2 separate regions of the Homo sapiens genome follow, and region 2 is linked to region 1. Evidence: promoter capture Hi-C in 16 types of primary human blood cells and fetal thymus (Javierre and others, 2016). All regions are on one chromosome and are shown on one strand. Each heading gives the region's core, a stretch centred on a gene start or on the middle of the fragment in contact. The rest is flanking DNA. Distances are from core to core; before and after follow the strand shown.

Region 1 (2,700 bases), core at 101-2,600:
AAATCCACTTCCCCATCTCCCTGTCGCCAGTCACTGCCCTCAATCCCACCACTGCAATTAGTTGCAGCTATGTGTCCCTGTTTTCCCAAAGGCCCGACCAATATCATACAGCATTTGCCACATCCCAACTCCTCCCTTCCCTAATTTATCCTCCACACTGCAAACCAACATTACACCCCCGACTTCCTGCATTTTACTCCCTTCCCTTATTTTTCGTCTTCCCCCACCCCCATCTCTATACCCAGGCCTCCTTACTTCTCTAATAAATATTCCCCCACCTCAGTTCCAACCCTTTCCCTCCATCCTCTGCTCATTTTCCTCTCCTTATTTAGAAACTCCTTTTTGCTCTCCCAACCACTACCCTAGAATGCCCAGCACTCCACCCTCTTTAGCAAACCCAGCCCTCTTCCCCCAGCTCATTTGGAGACACTGCTGCTTCTCTCTCCAGGTCCCCTACTGCAGTCAACCCACTCCCTCATCTTCCCACCCACCTTCCCTCTATCCCTAGATCCAAGGTTCCCTGATTCTTTACCCCCTCCTTTGGTCTCTAGTACTCAGCTCACCATTAGTGTTCCTCAGGACTCTCTTCCCCCCAATTTCCCCCTTATTTTTAAGGATGTCACCAGTCCTACGGGGCCTCAGTAGAATCCTGGACGACCCCAGCTCCCGGGGGGCCTGACGGACACCACCATCCCCGTCGCCCGGAACACAAACGCCGGTCTTGTGCCACCCTCCCTAAGAGCTGCGCCCCCTCCTCATCCGCCCCCGCTACTCCAGCTCCCCACGTCGGCTTCCTCCGTGTCCCCTCGCCGACCCGGCACGACGAGCCCCACGACGTGGAGCCTCCGAGTGGGCAACACCTCGGGCTCACCCCGGACGCCCCCGCCGCTCGGATAGGAGCCTCCGGTCCTCACACCCGCGCCTCCTCAAACCCGCAGCCGGTACCTCCTCTCGGACCCGCAGCCCCTCAGACGCCCACTCGGCCCCCTTCCCCGAGCTCCAGCGTCTCCTCAGGCCAGAGCCGGGCCCCCTCCGGCCCCGGCGCCCCTCAACCCCCGCCCGGCCCGCCCCCGGCGCCCCGCTTACCGTTCTGAGCGGCGCCTGGCCCTGGGAGGAGGGAGCCAGAGACCAGCAACAGCGAGAGGGCCAGGGCGCTGGGCAGCGACGAACCCGACATCCTCCCTAGCAGAAGACCCAACAGCGAATGGGCCGGGGCCAGAGCCGGGGCCGGGGAAGGGAGGGGAGGGAGGGAGGGGGCGGGCGAGTGCGCGAGGGAGTGAGCGAGGGAGGCAGCCGCGGCTCGGCTCCGTCCTTCCCCGTCCTCCTCCTGCCGCCGCAGCGCCCAGGCCTCGCGAGACCTTCGCTCCGGGTCGTGGGCGGCTGAGGAGCGACCGCCGCAAGGATCGCGAGAAGAGGCGGCTCCGACGGAGACTCCCGCCCCGCGGACTCGGTGGCCCCGCCCCTGCAGAGGCTGATTGGCCTAGCGCGAGGTAGGTCACGTGCCGAGGGCGCCTCTGGCCATGTGACGGGGCGAGGCGGGACTCCGCTAGCTCTCTGGGCAGTGGGGAGCTGGGAAGTCCTTCAGTTTACTCCTCTGTGGCCCGGGAGCACCCATAAATAAGAGGAAGCTTTGGAACACAGTACATTTCCTCCACCCATCCTGCCTTTCATTTGTTAGCGCTCTTGGCTACAGAGTTTCATACACCGTGCCTCCTTTCCTCCTTCCTCTCTTTGTCCCCGTCCTGCTGTTTCTTCCTTCTGGACTTTGAACATAGACCTCTACTGGTAACTGGCTCCAACCTCCTTCTCTCATCTGCTGTTTTTTCCTTCCAGGAAAAGTGGTGCGCCCCCTGTGCCCCCGTTACCTTGTGCTTTCCTGCCTGGACATCTGCTCCCTTTGCCTGAAATGTCCTCCTTTGCCGCCTCTGCCTACTCCCCCTCCCACCCCACATCTGGGCCTTATTTTAGCTTCATAGACTCTCAGGGCCTGAAGTTCAGCTAGCCTAATTGCATGTTCATTGACACAATTCTACAAGGAAGTCGTGTATGAACTTACATGAAGACTCCTAAGAAGCGTCTTAATGCGGAAAACATTTATTGAGAACGTGCTGTGTGCCAGGCACATAGTGAAACCCACATGAAAAGGTAGTCCCCGTCCTCATGGAGTGCACTGCCTAGGCTAGCAGAGGAGTGAGGAAGGGTCAAATGGCCCCATAGGAAAGGATCTAGCAAAGCACTCTGGAGGGTGATTGGCAGTGTGGTTACTACTGTTTGCATAGAAGTTTGGGAAATGCTCTTTTTAGGGGTATTTTTTGTACTACCCTCAGGGCTTGTGGTTGGCAAAGGAATTTCTATGGCTTAGCTCATCCCTGACTCACAGCAGACGTCCTGGGAGTGTCTGTGGAAACTCTGAGGGGCCAAGTAAACAGTCCTGGTGGCCTGACTTGATTTAAAGAGAGGGTTTGGAGGACCTGGAAGAAGGAGACCCTCGCAATCTCTATCAAGCTAAAGTGGTCTGGAACTTTCAACAGGAACTGAACAGCTGGTGGTTCCAGACCAAAATTTCTAGCAAAGGCCAGGACCACTATGGCATGTTGTTGATTGAAGTGAAAACTATGTCCTTCAAAACCTCAGGTGTGTGAGTGACAAAAAGATTGGCATGTACCTTCATCTGGACAAAGGCCATTCTGCAGACAGCCC
Region 2 (2,700 bases), core at 1-2,500, 1.4 Mb before region 1:
AGTACTCACGGCGACCCCGGGCCGCGCGCGGCCGCAGCCGACGGGACGAGCGGCCCGGGACGCCCCGCGGGGGCGGAGCGGCAGGCCAAGGGGCGGGGGCCGGGCCTGGCGGGCGAGGTCGCGCACCCCACGCCTCGTCGTTCCGTCACGGGCGCGCTCAGCCACTCTGCGCACGCTCGCGCGGTGACACGATGGCACGTGGCCCGCTCCTGACCAACAGCCTGACGGCCTGCTCCTGGGCGCGCCTCAGCAGCCGACGCCAGCCTTGAGACGCCTGCGCGGCGGTCGCTAGTCGGGAAAGGGTGCGGAGTGGGGGGTGGCGCCTGCGCCGTGGGTAGGGGAGGCAGTGGAGAAGGAAGAGGGACTCTGGGGGAGTGCGGGGAGCCTTCCAAAGGAGAATACTTGCATTTAGCGCCCCGAGTGGTTGGGAGGAACAAGCAGGAAGGGCAACCCAGGTTGCCTGTAGGCCGGGAGGGAGTCCCCTCGCCGGAGGTTGGGGCCGGCAGGTAGAGACTGAGGGAAGTCCTGAGGCCTTGCTGACTGCAGGATTCTCTGGTTCGACAATGGAAGTCGAACACCTCGGGCTTTTAAAAATTCTGGCATTTAACTCATTTGTTCCCCGGTAGCTGCAGCGTGATGGAGAGCACCCTGGCCTTCTAGTCAATCTGGGTCTGAAGCTTGGGTTCGGCACTTATTGATGGTGCAGCCTTAAGCGATGACTTTCACTTTGTGAATCTGATTTCTCCTCTTTGAGGTGGAGACAGTAATATGTGTTTCACGGAGCCGTTGTGGTGAGGATGAACTGAGATAGTGTTAGGTTGAACCGTAGGAAATTGCTATTTTTGCAGTTTATAAACAGTCAGATACCTTCAATTTCATACGATTCCAACTAATCCATGTAAAGTAACCAGCAGAGTACTTGGGACTAGGAAGTAGTTCATACATGGAAGCTGTAATTGTGGTTATTGTGGTTATTAACCCTAGACATGGCCAGATCTCCTTCATCCTTATTAGTCTTGGGGCTTCCACGTGACCCTCTTTTCCATCAACACTAATGGGAAAAGGCTTATCTTAGACCTACTCTGTTTCCTCACTCCCTCTTTGTAGCTGGACACAGTACACACAAAGAAGGCTTTGGCCCTGAATGATATAAACACGTCATGTCTATCCCTCCTAAGCTGGCCTCAGAAGTTTCCCAGTTAACTTTTTGTTGTTGGTTGATTTACATTTGCACATTCTCAGCCTCTCCTTTCTAACTCCTTCCCCTTTTGATGTCCCCCTCTGCTCACCTTGCCACTCAGCCTGGGCCACAACACCGTCTCGGTGTGAGTTTGTTACATCTACTGCTTATAGTAACTGAAAAAAGTGAGGGATCAATATAACCTCGGTTTCAGAGTGCGGAAGTTCAGAGTGGTAGGGGAAGGAGTCAGGCCTGCTCTCTAAAACAACTCACCATCAAGGGCCCCGTAATAGCTTTTGAGAACCAAGTATGTATGGGAGTGTTTGAACATAAGCACTGTGCCCATGAGTGACAAGTCCAACTCCAGTATTCAATAACCTTTAGGATTCCCCCTTTCCAGCATACCACCACTAGCTCTTCTATTCATCATGAATCTCAGCCACCTCATAGTTTACCAGTATCTTCCAGGCTTCACCTCTTTTCCTACCCAGTCCACATCCTTGGTCAGTCATTTTAATCACATCTTTGTTAATATGCTTGCACTTACTCTGTAAAAATCACACTCCTGGGTCATGCCAGCTATCTACCTTCTCTACTCTCCCATCCTAAACCAGGATAAAGGAAGTCATCCAATCCTGCACACTTAAGCTTGTGAGTGGACACCATTTAGGTTAGTCTAGCCCATGAACCCTATTCTGTGGGAATTATCGTTTCCACACCCACACTATGGATCCACAGGCCCCAGGGCCATGTTCGTCTTGTGTGACCTCTAGCACTTTAGCTGCAGTTTATTGAACTGTGAGTGGATTCCTGGTCTAAGCTGTGTTAAACAGATGTTCTCCTGAAAATCTGGGATTAGAGCTGACAGATTATGATTCTAACTGGACTGGTTTCTTAAGCAAAAGAGACATAGACTTAGGAGCTATGGTACATCTACCTCCCACCTACTATGATGAATGAGAAAAGGAAAAAGACCATCTGGGGACACAGAATGAAGCATGGAGAGGCAGAGACCAGAAATGGTGAGACTACTCTCTGCTTTCTGGCAGCTTCCCAGGCACCCCTCCCTTCCTTCCTTCTTTTTTTTTTTTTTTTTTTTTTGAGACAGGGTCTCACTGTGTTACTCAGGCTGGAGTACAGTGGTGTGATCATAGCTTACTGCAGCCTCCAAGGCTTAAGCATGCACTAACATATCTGGCTAATTAATTTTTTTTTGCAGAGATGGGGTCTCCCTATGTTGCCCAGGCTGATCTTGAACTCCTGGGCCCAAGCAGTCCTCCATCTTGTCCTCCCAAAGTACTGGGATTACAGGTGTGAGCCACTATACCCTGCCCAAGGCACTTTCTGAGGCCCTCTGATCTTGAGGGACTAGGAGTCAGTTTTTATCTAGAATAAATGGCTTAAGCTAACTTAATGTGCACTCAGTACAGAGCTCCTACAAATTCATTGTCTCCTCAGCAGAGTCCTCAGTGTACCCAGCAACCCTTCCCATGTCAGCCTCTCCCACCATCCCCCATTCT

Evidence for each region. The method cuts DNA at HindIII sites, captures the fragments that hold promoters and counts their contacts. A CHiCAGO score of 5 or more calls a contact.
Region 2: a contact is called between a fragment that was not itself captured here and the fragment with the promoter of NPTN in region 1, in 1 of 17 cell types (naive B cells). The highest score is 5.1, in naive B cells.

What each region holds. Positions count from the first base shown.
Region 1 is chr15:73,632,039-73,634,738 of GRCh38, forward strand. NPTN (neuroplastin) reads right to left here and starts at 1,351. Exons shown (of 9, transcript NM_012428.4): 1 at 1,087-1,351. The coding sequence starts at 1,177. RefSeq lists silencers at 868-1,127, 1,208-1,507. The HindIII fragment of the contact is 2,824 bases long and covers 1-1,626 here.
Region 2 is chr15:72,272,494-72,275,193 of GRCh38, forward strand. It overlaps PARP6 (poly(ADP-ribose) polymerase family member 6), which reads right to left and starts at 61. Exons shown (of 24, transcript NM_001323532.2): 1 at 1-61. RefSeq lists a silencer at 1-223 and enhancers at 364-413, 474-563. The HindIII fragment of the contact is 1,151 bases long and covers 676-1,826 here.